6 separate regions of the Homo sapiens genome follow, and all the other regions are linked to region 3. Evidence: promoter capture Hi-C in 16 types of primary human blood cells and fetal thymus (Javierre and others, 2016). All regions are on one chromosome and are shown on one strand. The core of a region is centred on a gene start or on the middle of the fragment in contact, and the rest is flanking DNA. Distances in the headings are between cores, read along the strand shown. Region 1 overlaps STK32A-AS1 (STK32A antisense RNA 1). Region 2 has its middle 130 kb from the start of STK32A-AS1. Region 3 holds the start of PPP2R2B-AS2 (PPP2R2B antisense RNA 2). Region 4 has its middle 78 kb from the start of STK32A-AS1. Region 5 overlaps STK32A-AS1 (STK32A antisense RNA 1). Region 6 overlaps STK32A (serine/threonine kinase 32A).

Region 1 (3,103 bases), core at 246-2,745, 640 kb before region 3:
ACATGAATTTTGGAAGGAACACATTTAAACCATAGTATCCCTGAAACACCACAGTTTAGGAGCCACTGATAATTCAGCATCTTCAAGGATCCAGAGGTCCAGAGTCACTGACCTAAGCAATGGAGCCCATTAGAGTCTAACTTTCACAATGGCTGGAATTGCTTCTGTTTTGTTCATTGGCTCCCTCATGCATAGAACAGTGCCAGGCACACAGCAGATTCTCAGTATCTATTTGGCGAATGAATGAAAGAATACAATATCTAGTAATTGAACACACATTTTTATCATTTTTCTGACCATGATATTTAAGTTTTAGGTTACTCATTTGTCAGATGAGGTTTGGATTAGATGGTCTCTAATATTCCTTCTTTCTAAACACAGAGCATCCTGTAATTGAAATTCTGTTGTGGTGTCACAAAGCCAATGTTGAAATTCAGTGTCTACAACACCTGAGACTTGGCTGTGACCTTCAGTTTTCATCATATAGGAGTTAGTACTTTTGCAGTGCAGATTATGTTCTGTTAAAATATTGGTTTCAATTTTAGTAACAAAATGATATTCACTGGTTTTTTTTTTAAATTTAAACCATAGAGAAAGGTACAGAGGAAAGGAAAGTCCTTCCCTCTGAATCCTTCTCTCAGGAAATAGCCTTCTTTACTTATTTGGTTTGTTTCCTTTCTAGCATTTTAGTGTGCACAGAGTGGTTACTCTTAGACATCTATCATATCAGAGATCTTTAGATTAACTATATCAACAGTCGTTTTGCTGATTGAAAAACAGTCTCAGGAAAAAATAAGATAAATCCATTAATCTAAAGCAATTTCTATCCAAATTAAAGATGATTTGGAAAAAAAATAAAATGCCAATGAATCACTCTTTATTATAAAAGAAAAACATTGCTTTGGCCTTTACTTATAGAAATACACAATAAAAAATGTAAAAGTCACTCAGAATCTCAATATTCTAAATAGACTACATTTTAAATGGTAACTTCCTCTATGTTATGGCTCGAATGTGTCTCCAAATTTTATCTGTTAGAAACTTCACTGCCAAAGCCACACTGTTGGGAGGTGGGGTCTAATGGGAGGTGCTTAGGTCATAAGGGTTCTGCCCTCAAAAATAGACTAATGCCACTATAAAAAGGACCTGTGGTAGTGGGTTCACTCTCTTTTGCCCTTCTTCCTTTCGCCATGTAAGGAACAGCAAGAAGGCCTTCACTAGATGCTAGCACCTTGAAATTAAACTTCCCAGTCTCCAGAACTGTGAAGGAACTCATTTCTCTGCTTTTAAAATTAGTCAGTCTCAGCATAAAACAGACTAACACAGAAATTTGTACCAGGAGAGGGGTGTTACTATAACAAATATCTAAAAATGTGGAAGGAACTTTGATACTGGGTAATGGAGAGAGGCTAGAATAGTTTTGAAGTGAATGCTGAAAAAAGCCTTTATTGCCATGAATGGAGCATGGAGGGTGATTCTGGTGAGGGCTCAGAAGAAAAGAAGAGCTGTAGGGAAAATCTGAATCTCCTTGGATATTATTTAAGACGTCATGACGAGAATGCTCATAGAAAAACAGACAATAAAGGTCATTCAGATGAGGTCTTAGATGGAATGAGGAATGTCTCATTGGAAACTGGAAGAAAGGCCATTCTTGTTACAAAGTGGTGAAGAAATTAGCTAGCCAGTCACAGTGGGGCATACCTGTAGTCCCAGCAATTTTGGAGGCCAAAGTGGGTGGATAGCTTGAGGCCAGGAGTTTGAGACCAGCCTGGGCAACAAAGTGAGACCTCCTATCTACAAAAAATACAAAAATAAGCCAGGCATGGTTGTGCACACTTGAAGTTCCAGCTACTTGGAAGGCTGAGGGAGGAGAATCACTTGAGCCCAGGGGCTGGAGGTTGCAGTGAGCTGAGATTGTGCCACTGCACCCAGCCTGGGCAACAAAGCCAGACCCTGTCTCAAAAAAAACAAAAAAGAAAAGATAAAAAAAAAAAAAGAAATTGACTAAACTATGTTCCTGTTCTAGAACTTTGTGGAAGGCAGAACTTAACAGCATGAATTAGGATATTTGGCAGATGAAATCTCTAAGAAGCAAAGCATAGAGAGTGCTATGTGACTTCTCTTAACTGCTCATAGTAAAATGTGAAAACGGAAAAATGATTTAAAGATGAATTTATGATCAAAAGGGAAACAAAACATAGAGATTTGGAAAACTCAATCTGGCCATGTGAAAAACTAAAAATAAAAAAAAATATTTGGGAAGGAAAACCAAGGATGTAGCTAAGCTACCATTGGATGAGAAGAATAGAAGGAAGGTGGGTGCTATTTATAAGACCCACCAATTCTCCAATGGGAGAATGACCCCAAAGGCATTTTAGAGATCTTTGAGGCTGCCCCTCCCATCACAGGCCCAGAGTGCCAGAGCCTTGAGGACAGAATGGTTTGGAGGAAGGGACCTAGGGGACTCACTGGACCACAATGTTCACTGCCCAAGGCTGCTTTAAGTCCCTGCTCCCCACATTTCAGCACAATGCTCCTCAGTCACTCTAGTTGTGGCTCAGGGTCCAGGTGCGGCTTGGGCACTAAGCCTTGGTAATATCTAAGTGGTGCTAATTCTGTAGGCATGCAGAGCACAAGAGCTGGGGAGCCATGACTTTCTCCACCTAGATTTCAAACGATGCCCAGCTCTCTGATTTCTCTATCTCTCTTTCTTACTGTAAAATCGACATTTAAAAATAAAAGCAAAAACAAAATATATGTCACATTTTTTAATCCATTCATCCTGAGATGGACAGTTAAGTTGATTTCATATTTTGGCTATCATGAATAGTGCTGCAATAAACGTGGGGATGCGGATGTCTCTTCAACATACTGATCTTATTTCCTGTGGGTATATACCCAGTAGTGAAACTGCGAGATCATATGATAGTTCTATTTTTAATTTTTTGAGGAAACTCCTTACTGTTTTCAAGAATGGCTATACTAATTTACATTCCCACCAACAGTGTATAATACTTCCCTTTTCTCCATATCCATGCTGACATTTGTTATTTTGTGTCTTATTGATGATAGTCACTCTCACTAGGGCGAGGTGATATCTTAT
Region 2 (2,777 bases), core at 223-2,722, 540 kb before region 3:
GTCTCGCTCTGTTGCCCAGGCTGGGGTGCAGTGGCACAATCTCGGCTCACTGCAAACTCCGCCTCCCAGGTTCACGCCATTCTCCTGCCTCAGCTTCCCAAGTAGCTGGAACTACAGGCGCCCGCCACCACGCCCAACTAATTTTTCTGTAATTTCAGTAGAGACGGGGTTTCACCGTGTGAGCCAGGATGGTCTTGATCTCATGACCTCGTGATCTGCCCGCCTCGGCCTCCCAAAGTGGTGGGATTACAGGCGTGAGTAAACTTTAAAACTATGTGGATTTCAAGCAAATATTTCCACATTTTTAGGATCTAGCCACAAAGTGTCAGTCAGAAGGAAAAACAGATTAGGATTTAGGCTGAAGGTTTAATACATAAAAATCCATTCATCTCAAAATTTACTGTGAGTACCTGCTGTGTTTTATATTTTTATTTTTTACACTGTGTTTAGAGCTAAGGCAGTAACAGAAGAAAAGCGAGATCTCTATAGAGGCTTTTTCGCCAACCAAAGGCTATTGCTCTTATTCCAGAATTTCTTTGGGAAGGTTTTTCCTCCGCTTCACTGGGCTCAGGTGATTGGATGGGGCTCACTACATGCCCATTAGGTCTGGGGTGGGCACATAACTGAAGTTGCCTACACTGAGATATATGTAGGAGTGGCTAGGGAAAGGCAGTGTATTTTCCACTGCATTTGTTGCTGTGAGAATATGAACACAGCCCCCTAACACAAGGTATGAGCCTACCTGGAAATAGCAGAGGGAAGCAGATCTGAGAAAGGGAAGTAGATCTGAGAGAGGGAGACTGAACCCTGATGGCAACTTGTGAGACCCCAGACCCAGCTGTCCCTGACCTATCCCTGGACTTTAGGTTACATGAACAAATAGATATATTTATAGGGCTCAGAGTCTTGACTTATTCAATACCATCTTCACATATCAATATTTGTGGAATGCCTATTATGTTTATGGTATTAAAGTCTGCCTACAGGTAGCTTATTAATCGGGGAAATAAGTTTCACAAACATGGAAGAATTAGAGAATATAATGATTGCTGTTTCAGACAAGGCAGACATCAATGTGGGCCAAAGGCTTTTGAAAGGAAGTGGGACTTGAGCTGAGAATATGAATTTATGTACAACCCACACTTCGTTTTTCATTAAATATGTCAGCAGAGCAATATTTTGGGACCTTTTGGGACCTTTTATTGGGACCTTTTATTCACAGCAAAACTGACACACATCTGCTCAAATAAATTGATGTTCCAATCTCAAGTGACTCATTTGGCAGGAAAAACAATTTCATTTCTTATTATAAATAGAAGCAGTAAAAGAACACATAAGAAAATGAGGATGTAGAAAAGACATTTTAAAAGTGTATGAAGATGGATAGTAACAGTGTAGTTGTAATTGCCATGGGGGCAGCGGTGGTAGTTGGAAGAAGAGGAGGAGGAGTAATGGTAATAGGATGATGGTAATAGTAATAATAGTGGTAGTAATATGGTGGTATTGATAGTGGTTACAGTAGTAATAATAATGTGGTTCTTACTATTTAGTTCTCACTATCTGGTGGCTTTGCTAAGAGATATAAAGGCATTTTCTTATATAACCCTCACAACAGCCCTAGGAAGTGAATATCACTAATATCTTCACTCTAGATAGAAGGCCCAAGACTGAGATGCTGGGGTCTAATCTCAAAACTTTTGTATTTCACCACTACGCTATTCTGTTCCATTTCTACCTCTGAAAAGTTACCATTCAGTGTATGTACAGATACCTATAAAGGTACAAGAATATTTCAGACCTCAACTTGGATATGGCTTCTAAAGTCTGCATCAGAGGCAACTACTGGACCAGCTATCATTTAGGGCCCTACAGTCACTGCGAGTGTCCCTGTTGGGGGGCTATCATGCTAGTGAGAAACAGGTCAGTCTCCTCTGAAGAATAGGTTTTCAATAATACTCCAGGAAAATTGTTTATGCAAAAGAATTTTGGGTAACAAATGCTGGAGAAATGATGCATTACTGTCTTTAAATTTGAATGCTTTCTGGAGTGCAGCTTATGTGTTTTACTTGGTAAATACACATTGGATAGGACAATGATGTTTTGAAAACACCTCTTACCAAACCATGTTTATCAAATATAATCGAATTGAGTCAGTTCGACTTTATTTTGGACCTCCTGCTTATTCAGATTCTTCAATTTAACAGTGATTTTTAGATTCTGAATCCAGTTCTAATATGTGACAAATAAAATTAGAGAGCATTTATTAAATTGGATTTGTAATTATTCAACTATCCCAGTGGTTGTCTCTTGAAATCAGTTTTAATATTAAATGTCAGTAATGAGACTTGGGTCTAGGACTGTGTTTCACTCTATTGTTTCCCTAGACTGGTGATGGTTGAATTTTTCATGTTGACTGACATTCCCTATCAGCTCCCCTATATATTTACATCACCTCCATGATGTGGAAAACCTGGCCAATGAGACACCCTATTTCTAAGCCAGTATATCAGAGGCATCCAATAGGAGAGAACATTAAAGGAGATGAAAACAATCTGATCGGAGGCAGAAACAAGAAAGTGCCTGTCTCCATGGTTCCCTGATTTATTCGCTGTATATGACTTTGAGCAACATACTTAGCCTCTCTAAGCCTCAGCTTTCACTTCTGCAGAACGAGAAGTGGAGCTCTTAGGGTTGCTGTGAGGATTAAATAAAGTTATGCCTGGCACACCTTAAGTGATTAGTGAAGGCTACTTGCTATCATCATCATCATCATCATC
Region 3 (2,767 bases), core at 15-2,514:
CTGCTCAGTGAGGCCAGCCTGTATTTCTTAGTAGAAACAGAGTAGCCAACTGCTCAGGGCACATAAAAGCTATTTTAGGAGAAACCATCTCAGAATGGAAAAAGAAAGAAGGTTGAATCTTATGACATGATTTCCCCAAACACTGGTGGGGAATTGTTGTAAAATGTCTCATAAAATCCCATCATATGTACAAATGGCATGGACTTAAACAAGCTGAACAACGATTGAGTGAGTCATTGAACATTTGGGCTGGATTTCCAACAGCCAGGAGAGCCCCAGGCACAGTTCTTTGTTTACAGGTGCTAAACAATCCATCACAACCCCTCCTTTTAAGCTCTGTCCTCCCTCTCCCTAGGCCTACCTCTCTTGTCCTCCCTCTCATTCCCTTGATAGGTTAGTCTATGTGTTTTCTAATAACAGTTTCAGGTGACCGAAGTCATCTATCTTTCTGGACCTTATTTATAGGTAGGCAGATTCTAAATTTAGGCCTCTATAAGCAGCTCCAGGCAGACTGCTTGACATCCAAGCAATGAACAAAGATGAATGCAAGAGCACTGGGTGACTTAAGGTGTGCAGTAGATTTATGGAATGGTGGCTGTAGTCCAATTAAAAGAAATAAAACTTCCATTCTAATGCTACTACCCTAGAATTCACAAAATCTAAAATAACTGTTATTGACTTTACCTATACGTTGTCTATGAAATAAAAGTATCCTAGATCAATTAACATTTTCAAGTACTTTAGTAAAACTAACTCCCTGAAATTACATACATTCATCAAAGAGTTATATTTAGCCAGGTTTCACTAATAATAATATTAAGTGCCCAATAAACATCAGCATGTATCAGATCTCATCAGACTAAGTTTTACCACAAGCCTGTGGCATAGATACCATTATAACCACTTTAAAAAAAAAAAGGGAAGAAAACTGAGCCTTGGCGATTAAGTTTGCTGTCCAAGGGTACAAAAACCAGGCAGACACATGATTCAAATCTGAATTCAGAACCATCAAGCATACCTCAAAGACTGGAGCACCAGGCAAGGAAGCCGCAGAAGAAGTTGCTATGAAGGGGAGAGCATTCAATCAATGAGATGTCTTCAGAGTTCTCTTACATTAGATAAGGTCTCTATATTGGGTAGAACTCTACAAATGGTTTGATATTCTCTTAAATTCCCCCATACATACACACACTTCATTCAATATCCCCTAATGTCTAAGAATGTGGGCTTTAGAGTTGGATGGTCCCAGCTTCTGCCACTTTACAGGCTGTGTGGCCTTTAGCAAATTATTTAACCTCTCTAAGACTCATTGCCCTCATCATCTATCAAATGGCAATAACAATTGAACCTGACTCCTAGAATTGTTGTGAAGATTAAACGAAACAGTATACATAAAGAACTTAGAACATGGTAAGAATTCAATAAATCATAGTTATTCAAATGGCTGGCTTCTCTGATTCTTATCACCAGCTGAGTATGGCAAAATATCAGGACCTACTATGTAGTGTTTCATTTTGACAGGTGCAAGATTCCTTTATTCAAGTCAATAAAAACAACAGTAAGAGCAACAGCAGCAACACCAGCTAGTTTACTTTTTATTGAGCATATATCTGCCAGGTCCTGTAAGACATCTCTTAAAATCTTCCTAAGAAGTCTGTTTCCCATTTTACAAATATAGAAAGTTAGCCTGAAAGATGTTAAGCAGCTTGCACAGCTCATGCAACCAAAGAGGGCAGAATCAAGATCCTGAGCCTAGAGCTCCTAACCAGCATGCCTCACATAACCAGGATGCTACGCGTAACCAGCACACTACACGTAACCAGCATGCCACACATAACCAGCATGCTACACATAACCAGCATGCTACACGTAACCAGCATGCTACACATAACCAACATGTTATTCAATGAAACACTAGTCCCATGAGAGAATCTTCAGGGCAAAGGGGAAGGGGAAGCTCTGTGGTCATAGGAATAGGAGAATGCCCTTGCCAGGAGCATCACAATGGACACTAGCATAATAATGGCTCCAAGAAGTCTTTCCATATTCCCTATAGGGACTAGCACAGGTTTGAGCACTCAGTAGGCTACCAATAAAAAGCTCTAAATAATGCCATCCCTGCTCAAAAATATTCAGCCCACAAAACAGAGAACATAAGAAGAGAAAGCCCAGAGCATAGAAAAGATGAGAGGCTCATGGAGAGACATAGCTAATGAGAAAATCCTCAAGGCAGAAAAAGGCTGATATATTATGTGAGCCGAAATTGCCAAATTTTTCTAGATTTGAGGGTAGCCAAAACCTAAAACCCATAAAACACCTAGGAGCCATCCTCAGTTTCCCTCACTCCATTCTTGCCCACACTGAATCCATGGGCGGATTCTCTCTGTACACATAAGACCTGGCCACCAAATTCCAGAGCCTCCAGAAAAACTCGTGACCCCATCTATTTATTGCCATCATGCCACTGATAACTACACTGGTCCAAGCCACCGTCATCTCTCACCTTAACCACTGCAGAAGCCTCCAACTGCCCTTCCCGCTCCCATTCCTCCCCACAACTACAACCTAGTCCACACACAGCAACTAGAGTGACCTTCCCACCACCACCATAAACCAAAATATGTCAAGCATCCACATAAAATCCTCCAGCTGTACTTAGAATACAATCCAAATTTCTTATTATGAACTCTTAGCTCTGGACTGCACACTTCTCTAATCATCTCACACCACGCTTTCCTGCCACACTCTCTCCTTTCATGTTTGTTGA
Region 4 (2,821 bases), core at 259-2,758, 590 kb before region 3:
AATCTTACAGTCATGATGATTAAATCATTAAATGGCATATCCTTAGAACACTGGTAAGTTTTTAATAAATATTAATTTTATCATAACCATCATCACTCACGCATAATGCCTATTATCAGGCTTCATATTTATAGATGACCAATGGTATTTTAAAATTAATTAATATTGAACAGCCAGGTTGGCACATAATAGGTGCCCAGTAAACTCATTTTGAATGAGTGAATGGGCTAATTTCAGTGTTTGTCACATGGTAGGTGTTTGAAAACCAAATGGGTTTTCTAATGGCCCTACCTTCTCCTTGCCCTACCTTTGCTATCTAATCCTCACTCAGAGGAGCCAGTGACAGAAGAGGCTCCTGGAAATCCCAGGCCAACTCTTCTCTCAGACCTGCCTTAATCAGTGAGAAAACTTTTGGCAAAATGAAAGGGTGCAGCTGCTGGAAATAGAGAAGGAGGTCATGATGCATGACTCCACAAAGGAAAGGGAATATATCCCTTTGGTGTTGGCAGCTGCAAACCTGAGATGACAGACGCTGGCCAATTTCCATCCTCAAACATAGTCAGACCTCTTTGGATTCCCTAGGCACATTTTGGTGAGCTAAAGATGGAGGGGCTCTTCCTAAACCCCAACCTCCCAGACACTCTCTCATGAGTGGGAGAAAGGGACTTAATGATTCCCTGATTACCTACAGCCTCCCTTGGTAGCTGGGTAAACTCTGGCAAGCTACTTCAAAATCTATGTGCTTCATTCATCTCTGAATTGGGAATAAAAGTAGTGCCTGCCTCACAGCATTGCTGTGATGAAATGTGTTAACATGTAATGTGCTGAGAACAGTGCCTGAGTTACAGTATCTGGTAATGCTAGGAGCAATGAATGCTGGTTATTACGAATTACTGTTCTGCTCGGGACACAGGATCTTTGAGCATAGTGTGGGAACAGATGGGGATCCACAGTTTCTTACTATGGAATGCTGGGATCTTGGAGTTTAAATTCTCAGGCTCAATTCCTGGCTGTTCTACTTACCAATGAATTAACTTTGATCAAGTGGATACCTTGTCTGAGTTTCAGTTTCTTCATCCTACATTGGATAAGCCACCCACTTCCCTTTCTCACAAGACTTCTGTCCAAATAAGACAATGTTTCTAAGCTGTGAAGGGTTAGCTATTGCTATTCCCTCAAACAGCTGGGCTTCCTCCAAATACTGCAGCCTTCCCATTCAGTGGAGAGGCTCTGATGGTGATGCAGAGAAGGAGGACCTCAAGTGCTCCTCACAACCCTGTGATTCTAAGAAGGATTCATTCAGCTTTGGGCTGGGCATCTTGGCCCTTGTGTAGTCTGTATGCAGTATTAGCCTGGCTTTGGAAAGGCAGCGTCACTTCTTTTAAAGGGTTACTTGGCTAGTTTTGGACTCATAGCTTCTTCGATATGCTCATAGAAGGGAGTCTCAATAGCAAAGTAAAGGATCGTCTTAACTTTGCTAGTTTGATAACAATAATATCTGATTTATTCAGCACCTGCTGTGTGTCAGGCCTTACTATAGGTACCAAGGATTCATTAAGCCCTGCCTTCATGGAGCTCAGCTTCTCTTTAGAAACCATTCATCTCAAAGGTGAAGAAACTGAGGCCAGGGCTTCACAGGCAAAAGGGCTTGTGCATATTATGTCTTGATTTTGTGGCTGAGCCAAATCTACAGCCCAGGTTCTCAATAGCAGTCCAGACTAAGCAAATTAATTCTCCTTTTCTTCCCTCTGATGTTACCTGTCAACTTCCAGCCTCAAAAGCATGTGGTATACAATGACTGTAAAGAACCATGAGCCTTTAGAGAACGGAATCATTATTTTACATCAGACTCACTGCTCTCTGCATTTTGCTGACAGCATTATTTTTGCCACAGCTTTTTAACAAAAGAAAAGATGCTGGGGGCATAGCAGATAAGATTACTAAAAACTTGCTCAGCATTAGGAGTGACCCCACTGCCTCTTGGGTCTCCACCTTTGCTATTTTCAGCTGCATCCTTTTCTCTGGCTTGTTGCTATGATTTGGGAAATTGCTAAACATTCAAGGGCTTTGTGGGACTGCCTGTGCTGGTTTCCATAGCGAGGGGCGGTTCCGGGTATGGACACACTCCTGCACTAAAGGAAATGAGATTCCCCTATACAAATACCAGTGGCTCCTTACCACCCCTCCTTAGCTTCAGCAAAGAATAGAACTAACAGAAAAACATAAACTCACGTTGAACATTTTACTCCTTCGGTTTAAGTACTTAACCTTTGAGTGTTCATTTACTAGGCACTTGTTTGCATTTAGATATCTCTGTTGGAACCATCCCTGTGTGAAAGCCATTTACCGCAGGACCAGCTACCACCATTGAGTGCTTTCTGCCATCCAGTATGGTGCCCAGTGGTTTACCCGCATTAGCTCACTTAATGCTCACAAACCCCAAAGAGATAGATAAGGGTAATAGATAAAGATAAACATTTTGCATATAAGGAAATGGAGCCCCAGAGAAGTCAAACCCTTGTTCAAGATTGTACATTCAATAAATGTCAGGCCTGGGACTGGTACTCAAATCTGCCTGACTCCCAAGTCTGAATTTTTTTTTCTTTTCTTTTCTTTTTTTTTTTTTTTGAGACAGAGTCTCACTCTTGTCAACCAGGCTGGAGTGCAGTGGTGTGATCTGGGCTCACTTCAACCTCCGCCTCCCGGGTTCAAGCAATTCCTCTGCCTCAGCCTCCTGAGTAGCTGGGATTACAGGTGCCTGCCACCACGCCCGGCTAATTTTTGTAATTTTGGTACAGACGGGGTTTCACCATGATGGCCA
Region 5 (2,802 bases), core at 106-2,605, 620 kb before region 3:
AACAATGAGAACACTTTGACACAGGAAGGGGAACATCACACACTGGGGCCTGTTGTGGAGTGGGGGGAGGGGGGAGGGATAGCATTAGGAAGAATACCTAATGTAAATGACGAGTTAATGGGTGCAGCACACCACCGTGGCACATGTATACATACGTAACAAACCTACCCGTTGTGCACATATACCCTAGAACTTAAAGTATAATAAATATATATATATTAAAAAAAAAAAAAAAAAGAAAGCTCCAGCAGCAACAAGGTGCAGACACTGGACGAGAAACAGGAGTGAGAAACAATGGTGAGAAGTCTATTGTGGTCAGCAAGGTGGAAGTGATGGGGCCCTGAATCTGGGCAGTGTCTGTTGTGATGGGCAAAAGAAGAAGTGGATTTGAGAGCCTTTAAGGACAGGCAATTGCTGGGAGCTAGTTAATGTAAATTAGCTTCTTCCAGACCACAAGAAATTGGCCACCAAAAATATAAAATTTGGGGTTGGGAGGCAAATGCAGAAACCCGAAGTCCTTATACGAAGTCAGCTCTGGGGTGGAATAAAACATTCCCATTTATCTGTTTTCTATTTCAAAACTCCTCTTTTAAGGAGATGTAAGAAACATCTATTTTTTGAGCATTGGCATACAATTCTTTGACAACAGCATTTTAATACTAAAAAGTAAGTTATTTACCTTATTTTACTAATATTTCTTGCTTTACATGTAAAAAGTAGAGTCTTAAACAGTCAGTGGCACTTCTCAGTGAAGGAAAAGGTGCTTCCGACTTACAAAGTAAGATGAATCCCAGAGAGCACAAGTCCATTTCAAGGAATTATGCCTAACAAACATTAATTTGTAAAATGCAGTACTAGGAAACATCTCTCCCCGCGTGCCCCAAAAGTCAACATGAAGTTTTAGTGCTTTAGGAAATGAGACAACGAGGCGAAGATTAGATTGCCTTTTCATATAAAGTAATTGGATGCAATAATATTAATGACTTAGGGATGAGACAGAGATTAAATATGCAAGTTTAAATGAGGATGTCCTAAAAATAATCACCTTCAAGAAGGGTGGAGGATCATCAGATGTTGGACAGAAACTGTCAAAAACTTGAGCATAATAATATAAATAACATTTTTTTTGAGACGGAGTCTTGCTCTGTTGTCCAGGCTGGAATGCAATGGTTTGATCTAGGCTCACTGCAACCTCCTCCTCCCAGGTTCAAGCGATTCTCCTGTCTCAGCCTCCTGAGTAGCTGGAAATATAGCGCACACCACCATGCCTGGCTAATTTTTATAGTCTCTAATTTTAGTAGAGATGGGGTTTCACCATGTTGGCCAGGCTGGTCTTGAACTCCTGACCTCAGGTGATCTGCCTGCCTTAGCCTCCCAAAGTGCTGGGATTACAGGTGTAAGCCACTGTGCCCAGCCCATTTTTTTAAGTTTTTATTACTTTTGATATCATCAGTGTTGTCCTATGACCACCCTCCCTTGCAGTGGACAATAGCTATTATGGTTTCAGGCTTCTCAGCTACATAGCATATAATCAATACGCACCTAATTGGTCCAAATTCAATTCAATCTCCTAGTTAGGGGAATACATGGGCTGCTTGTCTTAAGTCAAAGTTAACTGAAAGAATCACTATATTCAGGGGACTGAGATTACTTTGATTAACTTAGACCTGTCAGTGTCCACCCTTGAACCTGGGGATGAAGGCAGCTTAATCTTGTATTTGTTTTCATGCTGCTAATAAAGACATACCCAAGACTGGGTAATTTATAAAGAAAAAGAGGTTTAATGGACTCACGGTTCCACCTGGCTGGGGAGGCCTCATAATCATGGCAGAAGGCAAAGCGGAAGCAAGACCCATCTTACATGGCAGCAGGCAAGAGCTCATGTGTAGGGGAACTTCCCTGTATAAAACCATCAGATCTCATGAGACTTATTCACTATTATGAGAACAGCATGGGAAAACCTGCCCCCATGATTCAATTACCTCCCACTGAGTCTCTCCCATGGCATGTGGGGATTATGGGAGCTACAATTCAAGATGAGATTTGGGTGGGGACACAGCCAAACCATATCAATTTTTTTTTTTTTTTTTTTGAGATGGAGTTTCACTCTTGTTCCCCTGACTGGAGTGCAATGGCGCAATCTTGGCTCACCACAACCTCCGCCTCTTGGGTTCAAGCAATTCTCTTGCCTCAGCCTCCCAAATAGCTGGGATTATAGGCATGGGCCACCACACCCAGCTAATTTTGTATTTTTAGAGGAAACGGGGTTTCTCCATGTTGGTCAGGCTGGTCTCAAACTTCCGACCTGAGGTGATCTGCCCACCTCGGCCTCCCAAGCTGCTGGGGTTACAGGTGTATCAGTCTTAAAGTACAGGGCTGTCTGGGAAAAGGCTGGATACAAACAATGATCTGAGTCCTGCTATAAAGGAAAGTAGGGAATACATTATTAGTCACAGCCTTATCAGCACGAGTGGGAGAGACTTGGCGTTTTCTAATTGTTGATGCCAGATAAGGAAACTTAGCTGAAATATGGGTGTAAATATGAATCCCTTATGTCTTCATACTTTTCAAAGTTCTTTGACATTGAATCTCTTTGGTTCTTCACACAAACTGTTGCAGTTTTCAACAGAGAAAATATGATTCTCTCTCTTTTTTTTTTTTTTTTTTTTTGCAGATGGAGAAACAGAGGGAAGAAGAGACTTGGAATCACTCTGTCCTGGCTGTGGGTCTATGAAAAAGAATGTGGCCTACTGCTAAATACATTGATTTTGAAGCTAGATAGCTCTGGTTTTGGGGAGCAAG
Region 6 (2,962 bases), core at 16-2,515, 680 kb before region 3:
CTAATGCAAAATAATAAATACGAGACAGCATTACTCAAGGCTGCTAAGGGAAAGTCGGAAATTCATTTGCCTATTAAATTGAGTGCAAATAGACCATGATAGACAGTCAAATAACAAAAGAAATTTTCGATGTCCTTCATAGCTGGAATCAATTTAGCAACCTCCTATTTCTTTTGGATTGCAAATCTGTGGCCAATTTTCTTGGCCCAACATTTTAAAGGATCCCATTGCCTCTGTCACTGAAGATGCTGGAAAACTGGAAACAGCCACATATCCTAGGAGATGGTGTTGCCAAATAAAAGTAGAACACTGAGTTTTCAGCAAGTCCAAAGAATAATGCAATAATTGAACTCTCTGCAAACTCAGGGCATTGATGAACTCTTTAGAGCAGCTTTTTAAACTTAAGTCCAAATTTTCTTAGCTATAATATTCTAGAAGAAGGCTGTCTCTTGATTTAACTAAGCCAACTTTATCACCTTTACATTCTTTGTATAAACTTGGATACACATATTACTCATAATGACTGCAAGATTTTTTTTTGTTGCCTCAACTCTGAATTGTAAACAAGTCCACTCTCTCCTGTAAAAATTTCTTTTTTCTAAATCAGCCTGAAAACCTCAATAAGCAAAACCATACCAACCAACCACAAAAACAAACAAACAAAATCTAGTGCATTCAGATAGAGAAAATAAAGTAGATTTTTTAAAAAAGGTTGTAAGCATTAAAAAGAAGTGTTACTTGCACGTCTATTCTTTTATTTCAGAAAACAAAAAATGGTTTTCTGCATCATTAATTATTTCTCAGAATATCCATATGGTAGTTGAGAATGGGGGACAGTTTTCACTGAATCTGTTGATCAAATGGGATTACTTATTAGTCAGTTTGGGACTTAAATCAGACAAAGTAAACTTTAGTTATTTTCATCCCAATTAGTTCTTGATTTTGCCTTAAACAAAAATACAATAACCTCAGGGGGATAAAAAAGATATCAGATGAGATTATGTTTTTGTGCAGTCAATAACTTGGCTTCTTTTAAAGTGTTTTTATATAGGTTTTAACAGAATCCATAAAATCTGCCGTTCTGTTAATCCAGTCAATAGAAACATGAATAGGTCTAATTAACTGTGGAATCGACAGAGTTGCATTTAATTAATTTTGTTTTTCTCAGAACTTAAAGTACTTCAAAGAGTTCACACTAGGAAACTCTGATGTTAGTAAATAACACTTAATTAGCATTAATTGAGTGGTTACTTTATGGGAAATACTTTGCTAAGTGTTTTACTTGCATTATTTATTCAATCCTCACAAAGACCTAATGAAGTATGCCCAATTATTACCTGCATTTTACATACAAAGAAACTGAGGCTTACAAAGGTTAAATAAGTTTCCCCCTCAATTAATTCATTAGTAATTATTTAGGTTTGGAGACTTTTCTTGTGGTACCTCAAGTTTCCTTAGAACACCATATAATTAGTCAAACTGACTCCAGTGTCTGATAATGGTTGACCAGGCTATATCCTCTTTGACTCTTCTCATAGAAACATGTAGATTACTGGCACGTGGCACAGCTGAGACTTGAACCTGTGCATGCCTTTCCAATACTCTAGCCCATCATGCCAGGCTGTGTCCCATTACTAAAACACAAAGCATAATTAGGTAGAAGACAGTATGATGGTTCCTCAGAGAGTCAAACAAGGAATTATATGATCCAGTGCTTCCACTACTAGGTATATACCCAAAAGAATTGAAAACAGGGACTTGAACAGACATTTGCACACCAATGTTTATAGCAGCCTTATTCACAAAAATCAAAAGGTGAGGACAATCAATGTCAACTAATGAAAAGATAAACAAAATGTGGTATATCCATACAATGGAATACGACTCAGACTTAAAAAGAAAGAGAATCTTGACACATGCTGCAACATGGATGAACCTTAAAAATATATGCTAAATGAAATAAACCAGATGCAAAAGAACAAATCTTATATGTTCCATTTATATGAGGTACATAGAGTAGTTAAATTCATAGAGACATAAAGTCAAATGGTTGTTAACAGGGACTGGGGAGGGGATGGAATGTGGATGTTATTGTTTCAGAGGTACAAAGTTTCAATTCGAGAAGAGAAATGTTCTGAAGATGGGTAGTGGTGATGGTTGTATGATAACGTGAATGTGCTTAATGTCATAAACCGTATATTCTAAAATGATTAAATGGTACATTTTGTTATATACATTTTACCACAATAATAAAAAAAAAGTAATTAGGACTTAAGATTTGCCCTAAAACATAAAAGCTAAAACTGCAAAACAATAGTATAATTTGAGATCTAATTTATGAAAGATATCTTATATAATCAAATAAGCAAGCCGTTTTTTTTTGGACAGAGTCTTGCTCTGTTGCCAGGCTGGAGTGCAGTGGAGCAATCTCAGCTCACTGCAAACTTCACCTCCCAGGTTCAAGAGATTCTCCTGCCTCAGCCTCCTGAATAGCTGGGACTACAGGCGCACACTGGCATGCCCAGCTAATTTTTTTTGTATTTTTTAGTAGAGATGGGGTTTCACCATGTTGGCCAGGATGGTTTCGATCTCTTGACCTCGTGATCTGCCCGCCTCGGCCTCCTGAAGTGCTGGGATTACAGGCGTAAGCAACCATGCCTAGCCTGAAAATCTCCTACTTTGTTTTTGCTGAATAAAGATCAACATAAGTAACTAATAAAATTATGTGTTCAAGATCAGATATCAGATGGAACAACATGAAATACAAGTGTCAGGATGAATTCTGGCAAGAATAGCTTATCTCAAGGGACATCCAATAACCTCTTATCTTGCTCCTTAATTACCTTCAAAGTGAACAAAAACACTTTTTCCATAAGAGAGAATTCTTGAAACATTACTTGGGAAAATTATTGGTTAAATGTTTTTCTCATATCTATATATTGGAAATATTAAACAGTTTGAA

Evidence for each region. The method cuts DNA at HindIII sites, captures the fragments that hold promoters and counts their contacts. A CHiCAGO score of 5 or more calls a contact.
Region 1: a contact is called between a fragment that was not itself captured here and the fragment with the promoter of PPP2R2B-AS2 in region 3, in 4 of 17 cell types (naive CD4 T cells, total CD4 T cells, total CD8 T cells and 1 more). The highest score is 13.9, in naive CD4 T cells.
Region 2: a contact is called between a fragment that was not itself captured here and the fragment with the promoter of PPP2R2B-AS2 in region 3, in 1 of 17 cell types (total CD8 T cells). The highest score is 5.1, in total CD8 T cells.
Region 4: a contact is called between a fragment that was not itself captured here and the fragment with the promoter of PPP2R2B-AS2 in region 3, in 4 of 17 cell types (naive CD4 T cells, total CD4 T cells, total CD8 T cells and 1 more). The highest score is 6.5, in naive CD4 T cells.
Region 5: a fragment that was not itself captured here is called in contact with the fragment with the promoter of PPP2R2B-AS2 in region 3 in 4 of 17 cell types (naive CD8 T cells, total CD4 T cells, naive CD4 T cells and 1 more); the score reaches 9.7 in naive CD8 T cells.
Region 6: a contact is called between a fragment that was not itself captured here and the fragment with the promoter of PPP2R2B-AS2 in region 3, in 1 of 17 cell types (total CD4 T cells). The highest score is 5.4, in total CD4 T cells.

The regions. Positions count from the first base shown.
Region 1 is chr5:147,203,247-147,206,349 of GRCh38, reverse strand. The region is part of intron 1 of STK32A-AS1 (STK32A antisense RNA 1); the gene reads left to right. Among named protein-coding and RNA genes, the nearest start is that of STK32A-AS1, 30 kb to the left of the region's middle. The HindIII fragment of the contact is 3,791 bases long and covers 1-3,103 here.
Region 2 is chr5:147,101,960-147,104,736 of GRCh38, reverse strand. No RefSeq gene overlaps it. Among named protein-coding and RNA genes, the nearest start is that of STK32A-AS1, 130 kb to the left of the region's middle. The HindIII fragment of the contact is 6,090 bases long and covers 1-2,777 here.
Region 3 is chr5:146,561,723-146,564,489 of GRCh38, reverse strand. It overlaps PPP2R2B-AS2 (PPP2R2B antisense RNA 2), which reads right to left and starts at 1,264. Exons shown (of 6, transcript NR_188288.1): 1 at 1,019-1,264. The HindIII fragment of the contact is 13,845 bases long and covers 1-2,767 here.
Region 4 is chr5:147,155,504-147,158,324 of GRCh38, reverse strand. No RefSeq gene overlaps it. Among named protein-coding and RNA genes, the nearest start is that of STK32A-AS1, 78 kb to the left of the region's middle. The HindIII fragment of the contact is 3,896 bases long and covers 1-2,821 here.
Region 5 is chr5:147,180,617-147,183,418 of GRCh38, reverse strand. It overlaps STK32A-AS1 (STK32A antisense RNA 1), which reads left to right. Exons shown (of 4, transcript NR_147190.1): 3 at 2,675-2,802. Among named protein-coding and RNA genes, the nearest start is that of STK32A-AS1, 53 kb to the left of the region's middle. The HindIII fragment of the contact is 4,960 bases long and covers 1-2,802 here.
Region 6 is chr5:147,243,159-147,246,120 of GRCh38, reverse strand. The region is part of intron 2 of STK32A (serine/threonine kinase 32A); the gene reads right to left. Among named protein-coding and RNA genes, the nearest start is that of STK32A, 9.6 kb to the right of the region's middle. The HindIII fragment of the contact is 8,414 bases long and covers 1-2,962 here.